3 separate regions of the Homo sapiens genome follow, and all the other regions are linked to region 3. Evidence: promoter capture Hi-C in 16 types of primary human blood cells and fetal thymus (Javierre and others, 2016). All regions are on one chromosome and are shown on one strand. Each heading gives the region's core, a stretch centred on a gene start or on the middle of the fragment in contact. The rest is flanking DNA. Distances are from core to core; before and after follow the strand shown.

Evidence for each region. Contacts are between HindIII fragments. The CHiCAGO score rates a contact against its expected background, and 5 or more counts as called.
Region 1: a contact is called between the fragment with the promoter of PLEKHA2 here and the fragment with the promoter of GOLGA7 in region 3, in 1 of 17 cell types (naive CD8 T cells). The highest score is 7.9, in naive CD8 T cells.
Region 2: a fragment that was not itself captured here is called in contact with the fragment with the promoter of GOLGA7 in region 3 in 1 of 17 cell types (neutrophils); the score reaches 5.2 in neutrophils.

Annotation. Positions count from the first base shown.
Region 1 is chr8:38,899,928-38,903,917 of GRCh38, reverse strand. PLEKHA2 (pleckstrin homology domain containing A2) reads right to left here and starts at 2,572. Exons shown (of 12, transcript NM_021623.2): 1 at 2,473-2,572. LOC124901937 (a long non-coding RNA gene) reads left to right here and starts at 2,473. Exons shown (of 2, transcript XR_007060893.1): 1 at 2,473-2,705; 2 at 3,222-3,990. RefSeq lists silencers at 1,901-2,570, 2,651-3,060 and enhancers at 3,661-3,910, 3,971-3,990. The HindIII fragment of the contact is 6,068 bases long and covers 1,024-3,990 here.
Region 2 is chr8:38,988,161-38,992,336 of GRCh38, reverse strand. TM2D2 (TM2 domain containing 2) reads left to right here. Exons shown (of 4, transcript NM_078473.3): 4 at 792-3,529. The coding sequence ends at 1,005. It overlaps HTRA4 (HtrA serine peptidase 4), which reads right to left. Exons shown (of 9, transcript NM_153692.4): 9 at 3,674-4,176. Among named protein-coding and RNA genes, the nearest start is that of TM2D2, 6.3 kb to the left of the region's middle. The HindIII fragment of the contact is 6,930 bases long and covers 1-4,176 here.
Region 3 is chr8:41,488,252-41,492,496 of GRCh38, reverse strand. GOLGA7 (golgin A7) reads right to left here and starts at 1,915. Exons shown (of 5, transcript NM_001002296.2): 1 at 1,532-1,915. The coding sequence starts at 1,642. RefSeq lists enhancers at 1,285-1,394, 1,445-1,554, 1,845-1,974 and a silencer at 2,025-2,284. The HindIII fragment of the contact is 7,658 bases long and covers 1-4,245 here.

The sequences.
Region 1 (3,990 bases), core at 1,323-3,822, 2.6 Mb after region 3:
AACCCAAACTGTTCATGGTGGAAAAAGAGAGGGGGCAGAGCAACCCAACGTCCCAGCACCCAGATCCTCTTTTCCAAGCCCTAGGTCTATCACAACCGGAATAAGTCGAGCCACAGCAGTTTCCGTGAATCAGAAGAGATATTCTGATGCACTGTGGTCTGCAGCAAGCTCTCATCTGAGTCATCCAGCCTTTCAGCAGGGGCATCACCCACCTGTCCATCTGTCCCATGAATTGGACAGGAGACCAACGCTGCTTGGGTCTTCCTAGTATCCTAGCACTTCGGCAAACACTTGGCAAGGTAGTGGGAGGGCTGCTCTGGGGCTCAGCTGATAGGGCTCATCAGCCTTCCCCTTCCCACTTCTGCAGAACAAAAACCTGCACCAACCAAAACCTGCATGTCTTCAAGATTTATTTTAACCACTCAAAAATACCGAGCTGAATATGGTTCAGCTCACTACCATGACATGATGGGATCTGCAGGCCCTATTTCCTTAACACAGAAGAGAGAAGAAAGCACCAATGACAAGGAAAAAGAAAGGGTTGCAAAAACTCTTCACCAAAGGGCAGGCAGTTTCTCAATCAATACCAAGGTAATTACCAATCTGTGAAATGAGCAAGGCTCCCATTACCAGCTAGCTAAAACCCCACTAGGAGTGCCATAGACAATTTGTAGAAAGCATGCTGTAATGTACAAACAGGGTCAAAGGATACTTAGGTGTAAAGGCAACATCCGGACTAATAACTCCCATGTACCAGCTTGGAGAACCAAATCCCTACAGGTTTGAGGAACAACCACACTGCTCTTTTCTCTGCCATTTGGACAAGTGCAAACAATTCATGTGTTTGCATTCATTCATTAATGCAATAAACATTTACTTAGCACCTGGTACATGTCATACGTTGGGCTGGCCATAATCTAGACTACAAGCTAGACCTCTGATAGTGCAAAAGTCATCTGCCTTCAGGCGGCACATGGTGAAGAGGGCTAATGTCTGAGATGATGATGATGCTTTCTAAAAGCTTACTCTGGCTTCTCAAAACAAGTGGGGGGCTTACAAGTCCTGTAAGCTCGCCAAAGACAGGGTCCAGCCCTCCAGAGGTAAAGGAAAAAGAAAAAATAAAGACAGGGGTTGTGTTTTGTTCATCACTGCCTTGCATGTATAATACATGTCAACTGAATGCAACTGAAATAGAAAGCAAAAACTTCTATTCTTTCAAGATCTTTTGCTTTGCTGTTTCGGAAGGCTTCGCAACCAAAGAAAAAAAATGACAAAAGAAGGGAAAATGGGACTTGGTCAGATAGATTAAGAACACCATTAGTGCAATCTTGGGACTTCAGCCCCAAGTGCATCTACAGCTCAGCCTTCAGAGCCCCCAGAGCCACAGCTGGCTTTCTGGTGGGGTGCTCTCCCCTCCCTCTTCTCTGCCGTTTACTGTCCTCTGAAAACCCCACTTGGAGCCCTAAAGAAAGAAAGGGGGCGGGCAGGAAGAAGGAATGAGAAGGGGAAGATACATCCTGAACCTGCGTTCACCAAGAAGGAAGGAAGCCAAACCCTAAGGCTAGGGCCTGGGGGCAGGGCTGGCCCCGGGGAGGAGATGTGAGGGTGCTCCGGCCGCAGCGGGCCCTGCGCCCCTCTCTGGGCGTGCAGGGACACTTTTCCCTTCTAAACGGCCTAGCTTCCCACCACCCCCCCCCACACCCTTCTTTTCTCTTTCTTTTTAAAAAAATTTTGGTGAAATCGTCTTTAGGACTGGAGGAGAAAAGGGAAGCGTGTAAGGTGAGGAAGAAGTTGGTGAGAGAGAGAACGACAGCTCCCCTCGAGGGCTCACCCAACCTGGCACCGAACCTGCATTTTAGGGCAGTCCTTTTCACTGTCTGGAGTTCCAGAAGCCCGAAGTCCAGGCTGCACCCAGAGGAAAGGACAGGAGTCCCTAGGGGAGCCTTCTAGGCCTGTCATTTAATAAGGTAGTCGGGGGAGTGAAAGAGGAGTCTCCATGGCCCAATCCGTACCCAAGGGACTTGCCTGGGGACGTTCTCTGCTCTCCTCCCCTCCCGCAGCCCGGGCAGTCGTTGCGGGGTCGGTGCCCCAGCGCCAGAACCCGCAGAGAAGTTTCGCTGCTGCAAACGTGAGAAAATGCAGCTCAGCAGAACTCCCGCCCCCACCCTCTCCGCGGCCCCACCCCCCGCAGCCCGACCCCTGGCGGCGGCGACCTTGGCCACCCGGGGCACTTGGAGGAGGGGCTGCCCTCGGGGCTCTCCCAGAGGGTTGGAGGAGGCCTCCAGGGTCTGCGGCCACCTCCCCTCGCCTGTCAGCCACTAGGACCGGCGTATTCAGCCCTGCGCGCGCGCCCCTCGCGCCCCTAGGCCGCCAGGCCTCCGCCGGGGCGCCCCCTGCACCCCCAGCCCCGCCAGCCCCCGCGCGCCCCTCTGCGCCTCTCCACTCCCGAGCCCGCGAGGGCGCCCAACTTACCCCCCCGTGCAGGGGCCGGGGCTCGGGCGGGGCGCGTTACATCGGGCGGGGTCGCCCCTCCGGCCGCCGGGTCCGCCGCGCTCCAGGGATTTCTGGGTCTGCCTGCCAAACTCTCCGCGCCTCTCGCTCCCCTCGCTCTGGTCTCCCCCAGTGCCCCCTCCTTCTCTCCCGTCCCTCGGCTCTTTTTTCCGGGTTAATTACGTTTCGCATTAAAGCAAAACCCAGCCCCGGATGTGAGTACAATGCTCCGCGGAGCCCGCCGGGGAGGGAGAGGGGTGCCGGGGCGCCGCGGGCTGGGAGGGGGTGCGGCCGGGCGCCGGGGCCGCGCGGGGGAGGCGGGGGCGGGGCGCCCGGAGGCTGCGCCCGAGGCCGCCCGCGTTCCGCGCCTGGCAGGTGGGACCTGCGCGCCGAGACTGCCCCGCGGGGAGGCCCGGCCCCGACGCTCGCTCGGGCAGCAGGTGTCCGGGCAGGGGGCGTCCTCGCAGGAGGAGGCGAGCTGGAGCGCGAGCTCCCTCAAGAACCCCATTTCCTCCTCCCAGAGCCCCACCCAGCGACCTCAGCTGGGCCTCCTTCGGATCCCGAGCCCTTAGCCTTTGGGGACCGAGGAGTTGGGGTAAGGGTTAGGGTCCCAAGAAGAGTGGCTTCTTCAGGTTGTCCTAAATGTGCCCTAAGAGACCAGTGGGCGGGAACGCTCTAACCAGGGTTATAAGGACTTTAATTTCTTTATTTTATTTTATTTTTTAATCAAGACAGGGTCTGGCTCTGTCGCCCAGGCTGGAGTGCGGTGGCGCAGTCATAGCTCACTGCAGCCTCGACCTCCTGGGTCCAGCGATCCTTCTGCCCCAGCCTCCCGAGTAGCTGGGACCACAGGCGCCTACACCGTGCCCGTTGGGACTTTTTCGGTGTGATGCGAAGACTCCCTTCCTGCCCCCAGAGCATGAGGGTGCTCTGGGAAAAAATGGGAAACAGACAAGCATGTGTTACTACGTAAACCTCGCCAAGAGGAACTAAGAGAGCTGCTGTGCGCGGGTCCCGCCCCTGCGCTATCTCATTTGATCCACGCCGCAACCTATGGGTACCAGTCCGGTTCACGGTGAGGAAACCGAGACTCAGACTTGTGAAGTAATTTGCCCTGGGTACCCAGTTAGTAAACGGCAGGTCTGTCAGGTTCTGACTCCGGCCTCCCACGTCGGGAGAGAGACATTTGAATATGCATCAAGTCAGGTGGACAACATCCGAAACATGAAAATGTAGAAGATTCGCGCGGGCCTGCGGGGCCGTGCGCCGGTGTCTGGCGATCCTAATGCAAACGTTGTTAATCAGGTGTAAATCCTACGAGGCTTTGAAAGAGGCAGGCATAAGAAGACGCTGAGGTTCTCCAGGACAAGGACTGGATTTGCAGGAAGGAGGGAGAGGCTGGGGCACATTCCCGGTGTTAACAGAGGAAAGGCGGCCTCTTATGTCTCCACGACCGACCGGAGGCCACAAGGCCTGGGGAGGGGGGCTCGGGCCGATGAG
Region 2 (4,176 bases), core at 528-3,027, 2.5 Mb after region 3:
CTGGCCTTTTTTTTTTTTTTTTTTTTTTTTTTTGGTAGAAACAGGGTCTCGCTATGTTGCCTAGGTTGGCCTGGAGCACCTGGGCTCAAGTGGTCCTCTCATCTTGGCCTCCCAAAGTGCCGGGATTATAGGCATCAGCCACCACCATGGTCAAAAAGTTTTTTAAATTATTGTACATTATGATGTTTGACATCTTAAAAACCTTTCTGGCTGTGAAGAGACTGCTCTTCCTGAAGCTAGTCATTTCTTAGAGATAGCAAAGGGCCCAACCAGCAGCATGCCTTTGATATGCAAACTAGTCTAGAGACATATCTTCTGTTTCTGGCCTGTACACCCCAGGAAATAATATTCCTCTGCCTTAGTCTTCTCAGGTCCAAGTGCCAGGCAACCAGGGACCACTCCTATAGCTTAGAGCCTGCTGAGGTTATTCAAACTAGCCAGTTCTAAACTATTCGCCCTGCCCTGTCTTGCCTTTCCTGCAGAAACCCCAATGAAGATAGTGGCCAAAAACCTTCCCCTCCCTTCTATCTTCCAACCACCCTGGTATCTTTGCCAGGTAGCCTTGTATAACATGATGTGCCTCCTGTCTCTGGGACCTATGAGTATAATAAACTTTGGTTTTTCCTGATCCTCTCACCTCACTGACCATATCATAAAAGAAAACAAAATGGAGGGTAAAAGGCCACAGAGGGTCCACTGCACTGTCTCATCACTTACGTTAAATTCACTAATCCTTAAGGGTTTAAATTTTCGTGCAGTAAAACATCTTCCTTTTCATTCCTTTCACCTAGGTATACCGGACACTACTTCATAACCACTTTACTCTACTCCTTCTTCCTGGGATGTTTTGGTGTGGATCGATTCTGTTTGGGACACACTGGCACTGCAGTAGGGAAGCTGTTGACGCTTGGAGGACTTGGGATTTGGTGGTTTGTTGACCTTATTTTGCTAATTACTGGAGGGCTGATGCCAAGTGATGGCAGCAACTGGTGCACTGTTTACTAAGAAGAGCTGCCATCATGGCCCAGGGAGGCGGGTGAAAGCTCCGTCTTCTGAATTCATCTCTACAGGCTCAAAACTCCTCTTTGATATCAGACCTGATGTTATTTTCCTTCTTTTGGAGGGCATTTGTTTGGTTAAGAAGGCTTCTTTGGACTTTGGAATTTCAACCCAGATTTTACCTTGCAGACGGAATGACAAGCAAAAAGTGTTGTGGGGAATCAAATTTGTTCCTTTCCTCATGCACAAAACATAAAGGATAGTGGCGAGTTTACAAGCTGTGGATGGGTTTCCATAGTCTTCCTTTCTGTACATTGCTATATCTTCAGTCCTTTGGAGCAAGTGGACCTAACAAGTTGAGCAAAATGAATATTTGGATCCATGTTCCTCTTGTGACCCTGAGTCTTCATGCAAGGAGATCTGAAGCTGAACAATGAAAATCTTCAGCAGAAATAGAAATGGCCGTGGATTGTAATACACACTGAAATTCTGACTTTCTGAATTTAAATGTAGAATAAATTTTACCAACTTGGAGTACTGTATGAGTATTTTCAGTAGGGGGAATAAACTCAAAATTATATTTGTTTTGCAGAAACCTAGTCATTTGAAATGAGCCATCCTATTAAGCCCTCTTTTGTCTCCATTATGTTCCAGAGGCAGTATATGCAGTGCAATAATTTTTTCATTCCACTTATGTTTTGAAAGCCAGCGGCATCAGATGTGTGAGTTGAGCTATTCCTCCTGGCAGAATTGTCCAATCTAAAAATCAGCGTTTACCAGCCCATGCTAATAAAATTAAGATTTCATACAAGTTTCTGTAAAACTATTCTTCATGATTAGCTCTCCCTGTGGGCTGCAGCAGTCAGAAAGAGATAACAGCCACACCTCTGCATTCCCCGGTCACCAGGAATAAAAGGAAATGTTCCAGATTGTAAGTGGTTTTAAAAACTCAGTTCTCATCGTTTGCAATCTAAGTTGAAAGAACTATTAAATATAAAATCAAAGGTGGGCAATGTGGCCAAGTCAATGGAAGAGGCTTTACTCAGAATAACTTACAAATTCTAGAAACAAGGTAGAACTCACTCAGTTTACCTAATAATAATTGAATTTAAGACCAAATATCACAGTTGAAATAACTTCCCTGGATACATTCTATCATTTTGTAGCTTTCCTAAGAATTTCTTGCTTTATCATTCCTGATTAATCACTGTTTTTACATTATTAAAGGTGGCAATTTTCTGTAAAAAATTTAAAACAGATGATCCTATTCTGTCTTGAAAGTTCTGTACCACACTGACCTTAACCTTGCTTATAACATAACAATTGGTAAACTTTTAATTCATAATCTTTATACCCTAAGATAGTATTTATTAAATTTTTATGGGTCATGAAGAAACTAGACCCTCTCCCCAGAAAAATCTACATACACAGAATTTACATAGAACTTGGGTTCATCTACACAATTTATGCATGAAATAAAATTGTACTGGTACCCTATAAATTTATACAAATAAAAGAGTTTAAGGGAGTTCAAGGATGCCATATGTATATTTTAAAAAAATTTCTAAGGGAAGTCTAAAAAACATAAATTATAATATTACCCAAAATAAGATGCTACTTTTCACCTAACCAAGTCCTGCCTCATTTCACACTTTAACCTCCTAAGTATATTCATAACCCTACCAAAAGTTGTTTTCTTTAAAAAATAAGAAACTTTAGGGCCAGCGCAATGGTGCAAGCCTGTAATCCCTGCACTTTGGGAGGCCGAGGCAGGTGAATCCTTTAAGGTCAGGAGTTCGAGACCAGCCTGGCCAACATGGTGAGACACACTCCCCCACCCCCGCCCAGTCTCTAGTAAAAATGCAAAAATTAGCCGGGCGTGGTGGCGTGCACCTGTAATCCCAGCTACTCGGGAGGCTGAGGTAAGAGAATCACTTGAACTGAGGAGGCAGAGATTGCAGTGAGCCGAGATCCTGCCACTGCACTTCAGCCTGGGCAACAGAGTGAGACTCTGACCAAAAAAGAAATTTTGCAGCTCCAAGGCTTGAAGTCATTTATGTTGCCAGGGGTAAGAGCTTGGTTGAAGGGCTAAAAGACTAGAAACTACTGAAGATGCCCTTCTTACTGTCAGTAAAGCTGCTGGAGACAAAAGAAGTTGTTCTCGCTGCTAGAGTGGTAATTTGAGAATCATCAGTATTCCTATGTGACAATCCAAAATTACTGGTTTTCATTTGACTTGTAAATGACACCCATCATCCATCTGCCCACAAACCTGGCCAAATGTGATACAACCTGAAAACCTGATGGACTAAAGGAGTACTATTTAACAATTGATTGCCTTTGCACTTTATTCAGGTTGTTTCTTAAATTTTGGTAGACAGATCCATTTGTATATGTGTGTGTTATATCTAGTTTATGGCTATAGAGAAGGTTTAAAATACTACAGTGTCCTTCCCTCAAGGTTAAATTAGAAGCTGCCTGCCTTTTAGTTGTTTCTTGCCTTTAATAAAATGTTATCAGTTCCCCCAGATTTCCTGGCACTGTGTTCTTCTTCCACTTGACATAGTCAGGCATCTTAGCAACAGTATAGTACCCCAACCTAATGATCCCTGAATGTGTATATGTGTTTCAAACTCCATTTTTCTTATTTTTTAATTGTAATCTCACAACATTACCATTTTTCTTTTTATTTTTATTTTTAAGTTCTGAGGTACATATGCAGGATGTGCAGGTTTGTTTCATAGGTAAATGTGTGCCATGATGGTTTGCTGCACCTATCAATCAACCCATCACCTGGGTGTTAAGCCCAGCATGCATTAGCTATTTTTGCTAATGCTCTCCCTCCCTCTACCCTACCCACTGCCAGGCCCCAGTGTGTGTTGTTCCCCTCCCTATGTTCATGTGTTCTCATTGTTCAGCTCCCACTTATAAGTGAGAACATGCAGTATTTGGTTTTCTGTTCCTGCGTTAGTTTGCTGAGGATAATGGTTTCCAGCTCCATCCATGTCCCTGCAGAGGACTGTTGCTTTTTATGGCTGCATAGTATTCCATGGTGTATATGTACCACATTTGCTTTATCCAGTCTGTCATTGATGGGCATTTGGGTTGATAACCATCCATTTTTCTTTGTAAGAAAAAGATCCAAAAACTTCTTGCCATGTTTGGCACATCTCCAAT
Region 3 (4,245 bases), core at 666-3,165:
AGAGATGGGGTTTCACCATGTTGGCCAAGCTGGTCTTGAATTCCCGACCTCAAGTGATGCACCCGCCACGGCCTCCCAGAGTGCTGGGATTACAGGCGTGAGCCACCGGGCCCAGCCAGATTCCATGTCAATCTTAACATGTAAAACACATCAATTGTGATGTTAAATTATTTTAAAACAACATTCAGTAGCTCTACCCAACTGGCCACTTGCTGAATTTCTACCTCTTCAAACCACTGTAGATAGTTCCACCTATTGTCACGCTCAGTTAACTCATAACATAGTTGACAACATACTGCAGCATTTAAATGGCATTTCAGAAACAAGTCACCTCACCATCTTTTAAAGGCATATTTGATCCATTTGCAATTCAAGAAACATATTTGGGCCATGAAGCTGCCCATGGTTATGTCAAACTGAAGGAAACTATAATGGATCATTGTTGATTTCCCAACCATGGAAATCGGGCAGTGCAACCCACCTCACTGCAAACTGACTGTAAATAACTGCTACACATTTCTCTACACAGACTCATCCACACCCACTTATCCCATGACCAGCATCTCTCAGTCCCACACCCAAGGAATGCCTAATCACCTCTCAGGCCCTCGTCCTCCCTGTCACAGAGGAGAGAGCCACAAAACCTGCTTCCAGCTAACCAGAAATTGATCCCTGAACGGGAAACACAATCTACATAACATGGGTCAAGACCAAAAGAATCTTTGGTTGAATGTACATATGTGGGCACACAAAAACACAGGCAGGCACGCACACACTCCATTACCTCTACAACAAGATACAATGATTTTTTTTTTTTTTTTAAAGTTTTGCTAGGTCTGAAGGGGAAGCAAATCCCATTCTTCCATTTTTGCCTGCAATGTTGCCCAAAGGACCTATATCCTGATGACCATTTTGATATGCAAGACAAAACAGGTGGCTCCCAGTGAATGTGACAAGTTTAAGGCCTTGTTCTGAGACATTTTCCTGTCCAGGCCTATCTAACGCCCGACGTCTTTAAGGTTCCAAGAAAGCCTGAACGCACCGCCTGGCCATGCACCTAATAAACCCTTTCAGCCAAACAGTGCGGCCAGCACAGAGGCAGCAAACACCAGTCACGAGAATGATGATGATTTATCTTGCGCGGAGAGGTAGGAGGATATAGTTTACAACCTGGTGACTGAGACGACCTGGAGCCTCAGGAATTGGCTCCTCATCGCTGCCGACAATAACCCGGGGTGGGGATTTGGGGGAGTGCAGCAGGGGAACACTGCTGGATCCAGATTCCCGGCACCGGGCAACAAAGTTCCATAAGGTCGTCAACCCCGGCGATCGGCCTATATTATTCTTCCTGCTCCAAACACCTGTCTTGCTTAGTGGCTCTCTTCTTACACGTTTGGCCAAGGCCCCTTCTGTGCCTGGACCTCCCCAGAACTGCGGGACCCTCAAAGGCCCGGTTGTCGCCCACACCCTTCCCGTCCCCGGTGAGTCTCTCTCCCTCGCCAGAGCAGGCGTGGGGAGCCAGGTTGCGTACCCGGTTCTCCAGCTCCGCAGGGAACTTGGTCTGGAACTGGCAGCGTGTGCCACTGCTGTAGTCTCGCTGAATGAACACCTTTCCGGACACCGGCGCCTGCTGCGGCCTCATGGCGAGGACAGGACACCCCGCGCTGCGGGGTCGGGGGAACACCAACCGCGAGTCAGAGCCCCGGCCTGGACCCGGGACTCTGACCCGCCAGCCCCTCGCCCCCACCCGCCGCCGAAAACAGCCCAAGGCCTCCTCTGCCCCGCTCCCCTTCACCCATGCTGTCACCGCGGGCCTTAGCTGCCGCCTGGCCCAGGCCCCGCGCCCCCCACAACCCGGTTCGGCCCGGGAAACACAAACCCGCCTCCTCTGCCCTCCAGCTGCTGTCGCACCGCCTTCGCCGTCACTTACGTCCTGCCGCAAAAAGCCTCTTCCCCGCCCCTCAGCTCGGCCTCCTACCTCAGGTCTGGGACCCACCCTCTCCTCCGGCCGTAAAGCCACCCTGCCGAAGCTGCGCGCTGTGGGGCTGGGCCGAGGAAGGGAAATGATGTGGGCGGGGCCAGGGCCGACCCCGCCTTCCGCCCGCGCGGGGATTGTTTCCGGAAGGAGAGAGGCGGGGCGAGCTGTGGGGCTGCGGCCGGGGCGAGCTGTGGGGCTGCGGCCGGCGCGAGCGCGCGGGGGTGTGAGGGGCGGAGTTTCCCGGCTGTGTCACTTCCCTAGTGATTGTGGCAGGTGGTTCCCGATCACTGATTGTGAGGGGTCATTTTCGTTCTTGATTGGACGTCGCAGCTTACGTGTGGGTTATGCCACCCAACTCATACACAAAACAAAAAACAAAACATAAAGAAAAAACAACACCCCCTCCCCAAACCCTCAAACACAAACTGCTCATTGTGTTCAGAAGTAGAAAGCAGGCTCCAAGGATGGATCCATTTGGTCCCTAGACTCTTGAGAAAGGGTCAGGAAGTGAGGACGAAGAACCTGCCTGGGCCCCAGCGTTGGGCGCCCCTGCCCCGACTCTTCTTTGGGGGCGGCGTTCCTCTCACCCCCCATTTCCACCCAGCTCCCATCCACATCCCTCAGGTGACCAAGGGGACAAGTGGTTCCGCCCTCGTTGCCCACTGGCCCTTACTTGACTCAGCATTTCTTTGCAAGGCAGCCAAAGAAACCCCACCTTACCCTTGTCTCCTGCTAATACAACCTGTTAGTACCACTGTCTTTTATATATTTAATATAGTTTAAATATCCTGCCTTTTAAATATGAAAAATTCTCTTACTGTATTTTAAAAACAGCTTTTTCGAGATATAAATGGCATACAATAAACCACACATTTAAAGCAGTGGATTTGATAACTTTGGACATATGAATACACCCATAAACCACTGTCACAATCAAGATAGTAAAGCTCCATTGCCCTGAAAAGGTTCCTCCAGCTCCTGTGTAATCTCTCCCTCCTGCCTCTCCCAGACCCCATTTCCCAGGCACTGATCCACCTTCTGTCACTCAACATTAGTTTCATTTCCTTGAATTTTATATAAATTGAATCATATAGTGTGTACCCCCTTTTTTTGCCTGGCTTCTTTCACATAGACTATTTTGAAGTCCATCTGTTGTTGTGTTATCAATAATTCATTTATTTTTGATGCTGGATAGCTATTCCATTGTATGGCCATCCCACAGTTTGTTTATCCATTCATCTGTTGATGGACATTTGGATTGCTTCCAGTTTTGGGATGTTACAAATAAAGCTGCTATGGACATTCATTTGCAAGTCTTTGCATAGGTGTGTAGACCTTAATGCTTTCATTTCTCTTGGGTACATACCTAGGAGTAGAATGGCTAGATTGTACGGTAAAAACACGTTTAACTTTTTGGCAGACTGACAAACTGTTTTCCAAAGTGGTGACACCATTTTGCATTCCCACCAGAGTTCCAGTTGCTCCACATCTTTGCCAAGACTTGGGTAGTAATATCTTCTGCAGCTATAATTTTCATTTTTCCATGACTAATTATTTTGAACATATTTTCCTGTACTTATTTGCCATCCATGTATCTTCTCTGGTGAAGTGTCTATTTAAAACTTTTGCCCATTTTTTTGTTTGTATTTTATTTTCCTGTTGTTGAGGGGTTTTTTGTTTTATTTTGTTTTGATTTACATCTTTATTGGCTGGGCTTAAGGTCAGTTTTAAATTTTTAAGGCACTTTAATTCTTGGATTTTTGTATGTTTAAAGATGTTTTCCTGAGGCCTTTATACTTGCGTGAGAACTTGGCCGGGCTGTTTTTGAGTTTTGAGTTCTTTATACATTCTGGAGAAAAATCCTTTATCAGATATGTGATTTGCATGCATTTTTCACAGTCTGTGATTTGTCTTTTTACTCTCTTAACACGTTAGGGGTTTGAGGGGATTAGGGTGTGGACCTCTTGGGGAGGGCATTTCTGCCTCCCATAGGTATAGAGTGAAACTCTTCCCTCCCCCCGTATGATTATGCAGTTGTTATTCAGTTGTTTACGTACCATTTGTTGAAAAGACTCTCATTTCTTCACTGAATTGCCTTTGTATCTCTGTTGAAAATCAGTGGGGGCCGGGCGCGGTGGCTCACGCCTGTAATCCCAGCACTTTGAGAGGCCGAGGCGGGCGGATCACGAGGTCAGGAGATCGAGATCATTCTGGCTAACACGGTGAAACCCCGTGTCTACTAAAAATACAAAAAATGAGCCGGGCGC